Linked DNA regions of Homo sapiens: all the other regions are linked to region 1. Evidence: promoter capture Hi-C in human tissues and cell types (Jung and others, 2019). All regions are on one chromosome and are shown on one strand. Each heading gives the region's core, a stretch centred on a gene start or on the middle of the fragment in contact. The rest is flanking DNA. Distances are from core to core; before and after follow the strand shown. Region 1 holds the start of SMAD7 (SMAD family member 7). Region 2 overlaps DYM (dymeclin). Region 3 overlaps DYM (dymeclin). Region 4 overlaps DYM (dymeclin).

Evidence for each region. Contacts are between HindIII fragments. The study calls those that stand out against the background at their distance.
Region 2: a fragment that was not itself captured here is called in contact with the fragment with the promoter of SMAD7 in region 1 in 1 of the 25 tissues and cell types used here (mesenchymal stem cells).
Region 3: a fragment that was not itself captured here is called in contact with the fragment with the promoter of SMAD7 in region 1 in 2 of the 25 tissues and cell types used here (IMR-90 fibroblasts and lymphoblastoid cells).
Region 4: a fragment that was not itself captured here is called in contact with the fragment with the promoter of SMAD7 in region 1 in 1 of the 25 tissues and cell types used here (lymphoblastoid cells).

Annotation. Positions count from the first base shown.
Region 1 is chr18:48,949,015-48,952,347 of GRCh38, forward strand. SMAD7 (SMAD family member 7) reads right to left here and starts at 1,951. Exons shown (of 4, transcript NM_005904.4): 1 at 798-1,951. The coding sequence starts at 1,410. RefSeq lists silencers at 889-1,208, 2,425-3,124. The HindIII fragment of the contact is 10,376 bases long and covers 729-3,333 here.
Region 2 is chr18:49,140,690-49,144,300 of GRCh38, forward strand. All of the region lies in intron 15 of DYM (dymeclin), which reads right to left. Among named protein-coding and RNA genes, the nearest start is that of MIR4744, 93 kb to the left of the region's middle. The HindIII fragment of the contact is 3,239 bases long and covers 615-3,611 here.
Region 3 is chr18:49,157,823-49,161,018 of GRCh38, forward strand. The region is part of intron 15 of DYM (dymeclin); the gene reads right to left. Among named protein-coding and RNA genes, the nearest start is that of MIR4744, 110 kb to the left of the region's middle. The HindIII fragment of the contact is 9,195 bases long and covers 1-3,196 here.
Region 4 is chr18:49,111,946-49,115,121 of GRCh38, forward strand. The region is part of intron 16 of DYM (dymeclin); the gene reads right to left. Among named protein-coding and RNA genes, the nearest start is that of MIR4744, 64 kb to the left of the region's middle. The HindIII fragment of the contact is 3,387 bases long and covers 38-3,176 here.

The DNA of each region.
Region 1 (3,333 bases), core at 701-3,200:
CTGAGAGGATAAAAGGAAAGGAGTTTCAGGGTCTCAGCCGAGAAGCCCAGGCCCCAGCGCAGTAAGAGGCGACAACGTCACTGAGGCGCCGGGGCCCCACTAATCTACAGACTTATCTGTGCGGAAGGAAGGAAAAAGTAGGGGACACCCAACTTCTCCTGCCTGTTTGTTCCTCTGCACCCTGGGGCTGGCAGAGTTGAAAGGAGACAGATACCCAGTTCGGCCTTCCATCCAACTCTCTTTGCCCCAAAACTCCAAAGGTGCGCGGCCACGACAGTATCTGGGCCACTGGTGTTCGACGTGATTCTCCGTATTTACTAAAGGAGTAAATACGGAGACCTTCCAGCCTTTATAGCACGCCTCTCCCAGCCTTCCTTGGCGGGCCTGGACCAAATCCAACTCGGCCACACACCTCAACGTCTTTCCGGGTGCGGGGAGGCGTGACCCCCCCACCTCCCTCTGCACCCCCTTGTTGATCCGGAAATGAAGGCGTCTAATTTTTAACCGCAGACTGCAGGAGCAGTGCCCGTAGACCCCTTCGGGGCAACACAGGAGAAAACCTGGAAGGGAACCCCCAGGGAATGCCCTTTGAGTTTCCCCTTGTCCCTTCTCTACTTTCAGCCCCCAGTCTCTTCCCAGGAGGGTATGCACACTCTCCCAGGAGGGTATGCACACTCTCCCAGGAGGGTATGCACACTCCCCCTGGAGGGATGGCTGCACAAACGCACTGCCCTAGGGGCTTTTCTTCCAGCACTGGCGCTCCGGAAAATGTTGGGGGTAGGGGGACAACTTCTCACCTAGTTCGCAGAGTCGGCTAAGGTGATGGGGGTTGCAGCACACCAGCTCGGGGTTGATCTTCCCGTAAGATTCACAGCAACACAGCCTCTTGACTTCCGAGGAATGCCTGAGATCCGGCCACCTGAACACTTTGCACAGCAGGAGGGGGAGCGAGTAGGACGAGGGCGGCTGCGCAGGCTGCGCGCCGGCGGGCGCCCCCGGGCCCAGCCTGCAGTCCAGGCGGCCGGGCAGCAGGAGGCACGCGGTGCGCGTCCCGCCGCGGGACTCCACGGCCTGGAGCAGCAGCTCCAGCTGCCGCTCCTTCAGTTTCTTGAGCACCGAGTGCGTGAGCGCCTTCAGATCCGCCTCGGCGCCCCCGGCCGCGCCGGCGCCCGCGGCTGGCGGGTGGGGATGGTGGTGACCTTTGGCACCTCGCACCGCCTTGCCCAGGCAGCATCCAGCCCTGCCCGGGCCGCCGCCACCGGCCCCATGCGCTCGGCTGTCCGTCGCCCCTTCTCCCCGCAGCTCGCCTCCTCCTCCACCTCCCCCTGCGCCCTCCTCCTCGTCCTCGCCGCCGGGCGCACGGCTCCTCCAGAGACGCCGGACGAGCGCAGATCGTTTGGTCCTGAACATGCGGGGCGAGGAGGCGAGGAGAAAAGTCGTTTGCCTGCTAAGGAGCGAACATGACCTCCGCACACCATGAAGAAGTCGGGCGCCGAGTTGGGGCAGCAGGCGCAGGCGACAGCAGCAGCAGCAGGGGCCCGGGCAGGAGCGGCGGCGGCCCGAGGGGCGCTCCGTGGCATGCGCCAGTCTCCCGGAGGCCGGGGCGCGCGCGGGGGCCCGGGGGCGCCCGCCGGGGATCGGGGGCCTGCGCTCCGGCTGCCCCACCCCGCGCGGCCCGCGCCCTGCGCGGCTCTCCGGCCCCGGCGCGCCCCGGAGGAACCCGGCCGCCGCTTCCCTGGGGACGGCCGAGCCTGCCCCCGTCGGCGCCTCCCCAAAAAGAGGCCCCCCCGCAGTGGCTCCCGAATGTCGGGCTCGCCAGCCTCGGCTTCCTACATGGAAGGTCCGCGGGGGCAAAAAACGAAAGGCGTTCGGCTGGGCTGTTGGAAGAAGGAAAAAGCCTCTTTCCCCCTTGCTAAGCAACTTAATTTGGGGGTGGGGAGAAGCAGGCAATTAAAAAAAAAAAAGCAAGCGATTTATTTTTTTCCTCTATATCCTTAGTAACCGGATCTCCTCGAATTCCGCGCACACGAAGACTCAGGGGAGGGGGCCGAGTGGACTTCACCCCGCATGAGACGTCTGGCAAAATAAGAAGGCTCTCGCAAAACCTAACAACCAAATATGCAAAGCCCCAAATGAAAACCACCACCTCCTCGAACCTCAGAGGTCTGGGGGCGTCCGGCTGGAACTGGGGTTTAAAAAAAGAAAATGTTTACAAAGTATAACAAGATGTTTGATGGGTGGAAAAATGTATCCACGAGTTACATCCCCCCGTTTCCTTGCAAAGCCCCGCTGGTCTTCCTCTCCTTTTCTTCTGCCAAAAAAAAAAAAAAAAATCGTGTATTTTTTTAATCCACAGAAAGCTTTGGCTAGACCGCTTCAATCCTGCGCATCTGGGTGGTTTAGGGGAGTCTCTGGTCTTTCCCCCTGCGCTCCTGGGGGCCCAGGTCCTCGGCGGGGACTTCCTCGAGGCTGGCGCGGGCGCAGGGGCAGAAGATGCTGCGGCGGCGGCTGAGCCCGGCGGGGCTGACAGCGCGGGGGAGGGTGGCGCGGCGGCGGCGGAGGGCCCCAGACGGGTCGCGCGTTCTCGCCCCCCCCGGGCACAAGCTGCTTGCTAGTGCAGGGGCCGCCGATGTCCCTTCCCCTGGCCGCGGCTGGCCGCCGAGGCTCCCCGCATGGGCTGCTCGCCTCGACCCAGCTGCGGCGGCAGGAGGCCCCGGTGTCCTCTCGGCGCCTCCTCCTCCGAGACTCTCCTCGTCGCGCCCGGGAGCCTCCTTGTCCCCGGTCCGCCCTCTCCTGGCGCTCCGGTCCTTCTGCCGCCGCCAGGGGCTCGCCGCGCCGCACTCAGGGGCTCAGGGGCCGGGCGCTCGGCGGCTCGGCGCCGACGGACTGGCTCTGTCTCGGGCAGCTCTCTCCCGCGCGGCGAGCGGACCGAGCACGGCGCCCGGCTGGCTCGGCTGGCGCGGCTCGGGGACAGGATCTTCCGTGCGCCGAGCAGCAAGCGAGTGTGCCCGGGGCTCACCGCCTCCCGCAAGGCCTCCCGCCCCCGCCCCCTTCCCTCCCCCTTCCTCCCCCTTCCCTCCCCCGCCCCCAGCCGCCGCAGCCGCGCCGCCTCCTCCCCGCCCCCCCGCACCCCCCCTCCGGCCCTCTGCTCGGCTGGTTCCACTGCGCAGTGGCGCGCCCGGCTCCGGCCTCGTCACGTGGCCGTCTAGACACCCTGTCGCTTTAAAAAAAAAAAAAAAGCGATTGTGTTTCGCAAACAACAGATCGGGTTTCTAAAAGCTATTTCTCCCCCCAACCCCCCGCCACCGCCACCCCCTCCCGGGTCTGTAGAGG
Region 2 (3,611 bases), core at 984-3,483, 190 kb after region 1:
AAAGTTGGGTTGGCTAAAAAACAGGAACAGGGGTATGGACATATCCTAAGATGAGACAGGCTAAATAGGAGAATGAGAATAATAAATTTCATGCCCTTTCTTAGACTTCAACTAAAAAACCTATTCCCTAAGAGAATCCTCTCATGATTAATTAATCTAGCTACTTGTCAGTTTATACTATTCAAAATAATCCCCACTTTTCCATGCCCAGACACCACCTCTGTTTTGCCAAATCCAATGTATGTGTTTTAATCCTCATCTTACCCTCAATCTTCCATGTATAGTTGTTCACTATTTCTTCCACTTTAAGACATACCTACCTGACACCACGCTCTTGTGGTTTTTCTGATTCCTTTTGTTAGCATTTTCTCTTCCACCCAGCTTCTGAAGGTTGGAGGTCTCTCAGAGCTCTGGATTATCCCTCTTTCCTTCCCATTGTTCATTCATCAATTGCCATGACTCCGAACATTTTATTTATGCTGATGTCACCTATGTTTCCATCTGCAGCCTAGCCTTTTCCTCTTGAGTTCCAAGCCACTGTAATCTCTCAGCATGTTGACAACTGGACTCCCAGCCTCAACACTTAGCCCTTTAAGTCACTTCTCCACAGTGCTTTTTTCAAAGGTACATCAGGCCAGGTTACTCTAGTGCCCAAAATCCTTCAATGACTTTATGCTGAACTATGGCTAACCTCCAAACTCTTTACCGTAAATGGGCTCATCAGGCCTTGAACATAGCCCTACAATGACCTATTCCTTCATACTCATTTAATGCTACTCTCCCCCACTATCCACACTCCAAACTATACTGGCCTGCTAACAGTTTCTTGAATAAACAGAGCTCCGTCCTGCTTCAGGCCTTCACACATGCTGTTAAAAACACTCTATCCTCATTTTTTCTCTGGCAACTCTTATTCATCATCAGGTCTCAGTTAAATATCACTTTCTCAGAGAGCAAACCCCTGAATCCTAAGCCTCTAAATCTAAAACAGGATTCTTGCGATTCTCTTGCATTATGTCCCTGTTATTTTAGCTCCATTTTTAATTGCTAAATGATGTTTATTTTCCCTCCACTAGCTTCTTGAGGCAAGGTCCATGACTGCCTATTCATCGCTATGGACTCAATGTCTGGGACAAAATATGACATGAATAAAATCAATAAATATGTTTTCTTTTTTTTGTTGAGATGGAGTCTCACTCTGTCACTCAGGCTGGAGTGCAGTGGCGCAATCTCCGCTCACTGCAAGCTCTGCCCCCCGGGTTCATGCCATTCTCCTGCCTCAGCCTCCTGAGTAGCTGGGACTACAGGCGCCCACCACCACGCCCGGCTAATTTTTTTTTTTTTTTGTATCTTTAGTAGACAGGGGTTTCACCATGTTTGCCAGGATGGTCTCGATCTCCTGACCTTGTGATCCGCCCACCTCGGTCTCCCAAAGTGCTGGGATTACAGGTGTGAGCCACCGCGCCTGGCCAATATGTTTTAAACATATTTATGGATGATGTTTTCCTTGTATTTATTCCATATTTTGCTTCTGCATCTACTATATCTACTCTATTTAAAAGATAATTAATTATAGCAAATTAATTACAGTGTTGTGTTTATTTTCAGATGTAGAATTGAAACTCAAAAGGATTAAGTAACTTCCTCACTGTCACATGGCTATTAAGAGACAGAACTAGGATTCAAATCCAGATATTTCTAATCTAGAGTCTTTGCTCTTGGGTGGGGAAACTGAAGCTTGGACATATGAAGTGATTTACCAATGACTTAAGAAATGAGAATTTGAAGGGTTTGCTTTCATTCTGAAAAAGAGGATGCATGTTATTACATTACTCATGTATTGAGAATACAGATTTTCTACAATCAATTCTTTTTTTGTCTCTTTCCAGACAAAAAATTTCCAGAGTCTGTTTTAAAAACATTTCTGTTAGATGCAGACTTCATCTCTGTTGGACTTGAATCTCCAGTAGAGAAAGGGAAAGGCAGAGTACTTTGTCTATTTGCATCTGGTAAACAACAAGTCCTTTTTGGTATAAAATTTTCAAGTTACTTACCAAAGAATAGGTTAACCCTGGGCATCACTTACCAGTTATTTTTAATCTGCTGCAATCACCAACACAGTAGCAACTTATCATCCCCCTAATAGGAAAGATGATAAGGTGCTATTGATAAAACCCCAGTTAAATAAAGTTATAAATGTTTAAAATTGAGAAAATAGATACCATTTAATAATATATTCTAAAGCCCGTAATTAAATCAGAAAGATTGTTCTGATGTTCAGATCAATTTCGTTCAGGAAGAATATATGGAAAAGACCTTTTCTTACTTTCCATTCCTGAACAATGATAATCATATTTGAATACAATCATATGATCATACCTATCATTTACTGAAAACCTACTATGATCATGGCATTATGCCAAGAACATTACACATATAATTATTAATATTCAATCCAATTCTGGAAAGTAGATACTAGTATTCTCACTTTATACATGAGAGCACAGTAACTTCTCTAAGGTAACTACTAACCAACACAGCATAGCTAGTAAATCCTAAAATGGGGAGTGAAGTCTGTCTGACTTGCAGTGTAAGTTTATTCCTTTATGCCACAGTGCAATGAAAAGAGAATTTTAAACAGCCTTCCTCAGTAATAAGCTTTGGTTTTAGGTGATAAGAGAATAAAGGGCATATCTTCCTATCTTTCAGGTGGTAGAAGCTGTAGTGGTAGTAATTAAGGTCACTAATATTTACACAGTACTTGTTATATGCCAAATATTTTGCTAAGTACTTTCGATGCAGTATTTAATTTAATTCTCATAAAATTTGGCAAGCCGGATATTGGTCTTATTTAACTGTTGAGAAAACCAAATATCAGAGAGGTTAAGTAAGGTCAAGGTCACATAAAGGTTAAATATAGTTCTTTCTGATTCCAATACTCATATTATTTAACTTAAAAAAATTGTGGTGAAATAAACATAAAATTTACCATTGTAACCACTGTTGAGTATACAGTTCAGTGACGCCAAGCATATTCATACGCTGTATAACCTCTGTAACTTTCTTTATCGAGAAATTTCAAATATATACAAAGACAGACAGGATAGTATAATGAACCTCCATGTACCTATCACCCAGCCCATCAACTCATGGCTAATCTTGTTTCCTTATACTCATTCATTTCCTCTTCTCCAGGGTTATTCTGAAGCAAAGTCCAAACAAATCTTTCAACCATAAATATATTGGTTAAGTATCTCTAAAATATAAAGATTCTTTAAAAAATATACACAATGCAATTTTCACACATAAAAAATTAATAGTAATCCCTGAAAATTACCACATATCCAGCCAGTGCTCAACTTTCTAATTAGGTTTTAAAAAAAGTTTCTTACAGGCAGAATGAGAATTCAAATAAAATCTCTATGGTGTAATTGGTCTTCATTAATGTGTTTTTCTCTCTCTCCTTTCTTATTGCAATTTGTTAGTTGAAGAAACCAGGTTATTTGTCCTATATAGATTCTTGCATCCTGGATTTTGGTGATGTTTAATTTTTCTCTGTTCTGGGTTTCCCCAGAAAATTGGTAGCTAAATTTAGAGGCTTGGTCTGATTA
Region 3 (3,196 bases), core at 73-2,572, 210 kb after region 1:
AAGTCTTTGCCTAACCCAAAGTCATGAAGGTTTAATCATATTTTATTCTAAAAGTTGTATAATGTTGGCTCTGACATTTAGGTCTATGGTCCATTTTGAGTTAATTCTTGTGTATAGAATGAGTGAGGGGTGACAAATAATTACTGAACACCTATTATACACCAGACACTGTGCTGGATACAAACAACTCAGTGACAATGACACAAGACCATTTTTCACTTTCATGCCCTCTTTGAAGAAGCATAACACCTGGAATGTTTTCCTGCCTGAATCTCTCCTTTGAAAAATATTACCCAGCTCAAATTTCAACTCCTTTCAATGAAGACTGCCACAGTACCTCCCCTTCTTCCTAAAAGTTTTTCTCTCTCACTTTCTCTTCTGACAACCCACAAGTTTGGTTCTGTAGCTTTTATAAAATTGGTTATATGTTGAATTGTATTTTAGTTGTGTATCTGTTTTAACTATCCTGTAAGTAGGTACTATGCCTTCTTCATTTTTACCTCTTATACCATGGTAAAGTAATGTAAAACAAAAGTTTTAATAATATTCTGATTGCTGTTATCATCACTAGAATAAATGCATGAAAAGTTGACCCCCAAAAGCAATTGTCAAAAGTGACAACATGTGAAAGGAGCTGTTTTAAGAGTAACAAATTTCAGCTTTTCAAACTTCTTGGATATGACAGCATACCTACTAAGATAACTGTTCCCATGTTATATAAGTGTTAAATTACCTACCCCAGCCTTTAAATCTTCCAGAAAAATCTTTAAGGGACATTTCCATCAAGAACTAATACCATTATTCTACTCTCTGTCTTCATGAGTTCAGTTGTATTAATTTTTAGCTCCCATAAATAAGTAAGAACGTGTGATGTTTGTTTGTTTGTGCCTGGCTTGTTTCACTTAACAAGAAGGATGGTTACCAGAGGCTGCGAAGGGTAGTTGGGGCAGGGAGGGGATGATTAAGGAGTAAAAAAATATAGTTGGATAGAATCAAGAAGATCTAGTATTTGATAATAGCACAACAGGGTGATTACAGCTAACAATAATTTATTGTACATTTTGAAATAACTAAAAGAGCATAATTGGATTGTTTGTAACACAAAGAAAGGATAAATGGTTACCCCATTCATCCTGATATTACTCATTGTACGTGGGTATTAAAATATCTCATGTACCCTATAAATATATACATCTACTATCTACCCATAAAAATTTAAAAAAGAATACTCTAATACCATTATATACAAACAATATGTATGTATATCTTTGTATTATTTATGTACGTGTGTGTACAAAGGGGCATTTTAACACTAGCTCAGTAAAGGCACAAACATTGTACAAAACAATTGACTGAAGATAGTTTTCAATATTATTTATCCATCAACTATTGAGTCAAATGAATTTGAGATCTAAGTTAAAGAGTAAACACCACACAGAATCTTAATAATAGAACAACCTAAAAAGGATGGGGTGGAAAATAGAAACATCTCTGAATTTAAATTTTGTCATATGAAAATCAGATCAGAATATCCTATAATACATTTCTGAAGAAACTAAATGTCTGAAAGCAGATTTAAAAGTTTGTAAACAAGGTCTAAAAGATTATTAATAAAAGCTATGAAGTCAAAAGGTCAGCCAGTGATATAGTCCAGAGTTAACGGTATCTTAGAATTCCATATAGAATGATAATAATAAGTGATCATGACTTGATGAAAATAAATTTCATATGGATGGCTTTTACTCTTTAGAAAGTTACAGTTTAGAAGCAAGCTATCTGTAGGGCACAGTGGCTCATGCCTGTAATCCTAGCACCTTGGGAAGACAAGGCAGGACAATCACTTGAGGCCAGGAGTTCAAGAGCAGCCTGGGCAATATAGTGAGACCCAATCTCTACATTTTGGAGTTAGGTGGTAGAGTCAGTCCTACAGAAAGATTCAAAGTTATTTGATGACCACAGGGCAATATAATTTGGTTCCTTATGGTTGCAACTAGAATAAAAGTTAAATTGTTAGGAACTAGGGAAACAAAGCTTATATGGTACAGTAACAATATTCCTCATTGGTTATAAATATTCATATGGTTATAGCTTAAAAAGCATTCATAACTGATTTATTATCTTTGTTTCATTTTCTATATTCAGGTTCCATATTTGGTTATATATGACCAAACTTCTCTGAAAGTTCAGTTCATTTTTATTAAAAAAAAATCTGTTGAAAGATTCTCCTTTAACAATTCTCTCCTGTCCCTGTTAGTCACTGAATTAAATTGTATGTAATCCTGATCATACAAACACCAAAGCAAAGCCAAGTCAATGGAACTTTATTTGCTTTCTTAAACTCCCTTACTGCCCCTGTAGTGGCATTCTCTCCCCCCACAGGCTTGAGTACAATTTTTGTTTTATTTCCCCTTAAACAGCCAGGGCAGTTTCCTCATTATCTGGAACTCAGTTGAAGGTTTCAGGTTTCCCTAGAGATGTTCAGACCAACATAGTTGCACTAAAGTACTAATACTAATGTTTTTGGAACTTGCGATTAGCTTTCTATGTTGTTACTCAACTGATTTGTGAATTATACAGTATAATGAGGATAAACATTTTCTTAATAAACTTAGAAATCTCTAGGTAGACTGAAAGTACTCTATGTACTACAGTGAGAAGAAAAACATGTCCTTATTTTTAAGTACTTATTCAAACTCTGCTAATACAGTACATTCAGTCTTGGTGTAGAAAGTACACGTCGTGAGACTCTGTCTCAAAAAAAAAAAAAAAAAGTACACATCTAGGAATCCACTGCTGCATTAAGACCTTCTCATTTTCCTTTTTCATCTTTTACCAACAAGTGGTTTAAAGCATTAGTCCAGGACACAGAATTTTATGTGGTTACTGGCAAAGGTACTTAAGTAAAACTTCTGTGAAAGAAAAGGAAGGAACATGTTCATTTTCCCAGTTAATGACTAATGTAAAAGAGAAAATGGTTTCAAATGTGTAAATCACTTATACAACAGTGTTTTGAGCAATGGGAATGACCAACAAAACATTGAAGTATCATGAAAGAACATACAACGGTGCTTATTTTTAAGGTTACTGCTGTTTGTTTAATCACCTTTCAGGTCTCTATCAGGAGTGATTCACAGTCATCTCTCCTACTGAATCAGTGCTAACCATTCTCTTCAATTAAATCTGAGAAAAGGCAGCA
Region 4 (3,176 bases), core at 481-2,980, 160 kb after region 1:
TGTTGGTAGGATACCTCTAATGGTACTCTTATAGAACCCTGGGGCTGCGACAGTTTCCTGCCCTTTACCCAGAAGTAGAGAGTTTTTTTGTTTTATCTTTTACGTGCAATAATGGGTCTCTACCTATGCCCCGAGGGCAACAAGGTTTGGTGCCTGCCTCTGCACCCGCCTCCTCTCCGCACCCCCCTCCCCTCCGCACCCCCACCCCTGCCAGCAATCTAAGGCTTTTGCACCATATGAAAGAAAGGTCTGGCAGGGGAATGATGCTACGCATTTTTCTATTGGTACATCACCTTGGGAGGCTCTCTGGCTTCCTGCTGTGCCCCCAGTCTCAGTGGAAAACAGCCTGTGAGTGCAAATTCCTCTGGTGCTTGGGTCTCCTGGGTGTTCTGTAATGTCATGCTACTCCACACTCAACCTTTAGCAAGTTATTAAAATTGCATCTGATTTCTTTTTACCCACTTGTATGGTGGCTACCTACCCCTGTGCTCTGCCACAGGTGATCCAGTCCTGGTGTCTCACCTCAACTTGAGGGGTGGGTGGGCCGATGACCCCTCCTTGGGATCTAGACTATTTGGTTGTCCTGTGACCTCAGCTCATTGATAGGTTCAAGAAAAGTTATGATTTTGTAGTTTACCTCTTTTTCTCTTTGTTAGGGTAGAACTCTTCCTAGCTTTCTATATCCTAAGCAGAAGTCCACTGTAGGGAATTTATTTTTTAGTAGTAAATTTACTGAGGTACAATTTCATACAATAAAATAAACATACTCATTTTAATGGTACAGTTCAACCAGTTTTGACAAATATGCATACCCTGTAACCATCTGCCCCTCATTATCACAGAATGTTCACTCCACCTTCCCAGCCAGTTCCCCATAACTCCGTCCCACCCACTATTCTCTGTGCCTAGAGTGCTCTGTCCCCAGATAGCTGCATAGCTCACTCTCTACCTGCTTCAAGTTTTGGCTCAAACGCACCTGATTACATTCTTTAAATCTGCAATCTCCTACCGGTATTCTAACGAGCTCTCATTATTCTCCTTTCTTACTCTTTTTTTTTTCCTTAAGCAACTGGGTAGATATTGATGTCATATATTGGGATAAGAAAGACTATAGAAGAAAATATTTTATATTGCATTGGTTTTTGCAGAAAATCAAGAATTATGATTTAACCTTGTTTAACAATTGTGGGACTGTCAAGTCAGTAGCCTAAAGTGCTAGTTTAGAGCTTGATAAGGATGGTCAGGTCTGGAAATACACAAGATCTAATGTCCAGAGATAACAAGATTTCTTGCCTGTACCTTACTATACAATGGTTATAGTTCATTGCATCTGTCCTCTACTCATATTCAGCCATTTCTTAGGTAACCAGACAATTTATTTTATGTTCTCTCTTGTTTGGTGTTATATTCTACCTTGTCTTGCTGCTTAATTCAGCCTGATCATATCACCTTATGTTTTAGATGGGCGAGATAGGCACCAGTGTGTAATAAAAATGTAGGCACTTGAAAAACATCTATCTAATTCCTTCTGCAGACGTTAAAAGTGCTCCAAGGTTAGCCACTTCTGTCTTCTGAGATACTGAGTGCTGCTAAATGTCTTAACCAAAAATAATCAACTCTCAACTCCCTGCCCACTAAAAATAACAGTAGATTCGTCTCCTCCACCAACTTTTTTCTTCTACAGTCTTTCACAGAGTTAACTTCTGAAGGTTAACTCTATGAAAGAAGAAAGTAGCAAAAGCTTGTTTAAGCCAAAATTTCAGGGATCTTTGGGGGATAGATGGGGAAGGTAAAGTACTGAAAAAGGCACACAGTAGAGATGTTATTTATATCTTTATCACAGCATCTTTTCAAAATATGTAAAAGGAGTTTAAAATGTTTTTTAAATGAATTTCCAGTGTGCCCAGCACTATTTTGGATGATAGTATTCAACAAAAAGTTGTTGGAAAACCTGCTCATTTGGAATCTTAATTAGGTTTATCCAAGTGAATGCTGAAAACACGGGATTTAATAGAATGAGAACCTGGATTCAGGGCCTGGTTGACTGACTTGCTAGCTAAGTGATCTCAAGCCTACTATTTCCCTTCTCTAGCCCTGCTCTCCCTTCCTCCTAGGGATGGCGAAAGGGCCAATGACATAAAGCCCCCTGCAATAACATGTGATAACTATCCAAGACAATGATCCTTAGGCAGGAATGTATATTAATAGCATCTGAGAAACCTCTCAGCATCTTTATTTTCTTATCTGTAAAGTGGGATAATAATCCTAGCTCACATGGATTAAGAATGGTAAAAGAGGTCATATACATGAGGCACTCAAGCTTCATTCCCATCATTTAGAAGGTGTACTTAAAAATGTTTAGGCATTTGTTTATGTGGTTTTAAGAACTGCATAACAGCATATAGTCAAATGTTTAGCCTGAGAATGCAGTTTTCACTGCATACAGGTGAAGTGTAAATAAGTGGCCCATTATTCCGACAATGACAGAAAAGTGAGCACTGGGTATAAGTCCAACTTAACATCCTGCTTTTACTTCTATATGGTTCTATACTGTGTACTTACAGTGAGGTCCTTTCTACTTCCTCACCTCCACTCTGCTTTTCACTTCTTCCAAAGGAGAATGTGTTTCAAATGGATGTAGTTTAAATTCTTTGCATGGTTCTGTGTGTCCTGATTAAAAAAAATTAATATGGTCTTTCAGAGACTTTTTTTTTCTTTTTCTTTCGTGTGTGTGTGTGTGTGTGTTTAAGAGATGGTCTTGAATTTCTGGGCTCAAGAGATTCTCCTGACTCAGTCTCCTGAGCAGCTGGGATAACAGTGTACCACCACGCCTGGCTCTCAGAGACATTTTTAAGGATATCAATTGCCTGGTTACTAAGAACGTTCCTCATTGCACCACTGATGGAATAAAGACTGATTTGACATTATTAGAACTGATTTTGAAAGAGAAAGTAATTAGGTTTGTGGATATGATCAGATGGTTTCATAGGCAACTGTGGGAGCATTTAGTGAATGTGTATAGTGGTTAGGCAGAATTATTACAAACAAAGGCCTTATCATCAAACTCTGGGTTTAAGTTCTCGCTGTATCACTTGCTGAATGTGTGACAGTAAACAAGTTAATTAATCTTTCTAACTTGGTTTCTTTATCTGTAAATTGAGGGCTAAAATGAAATA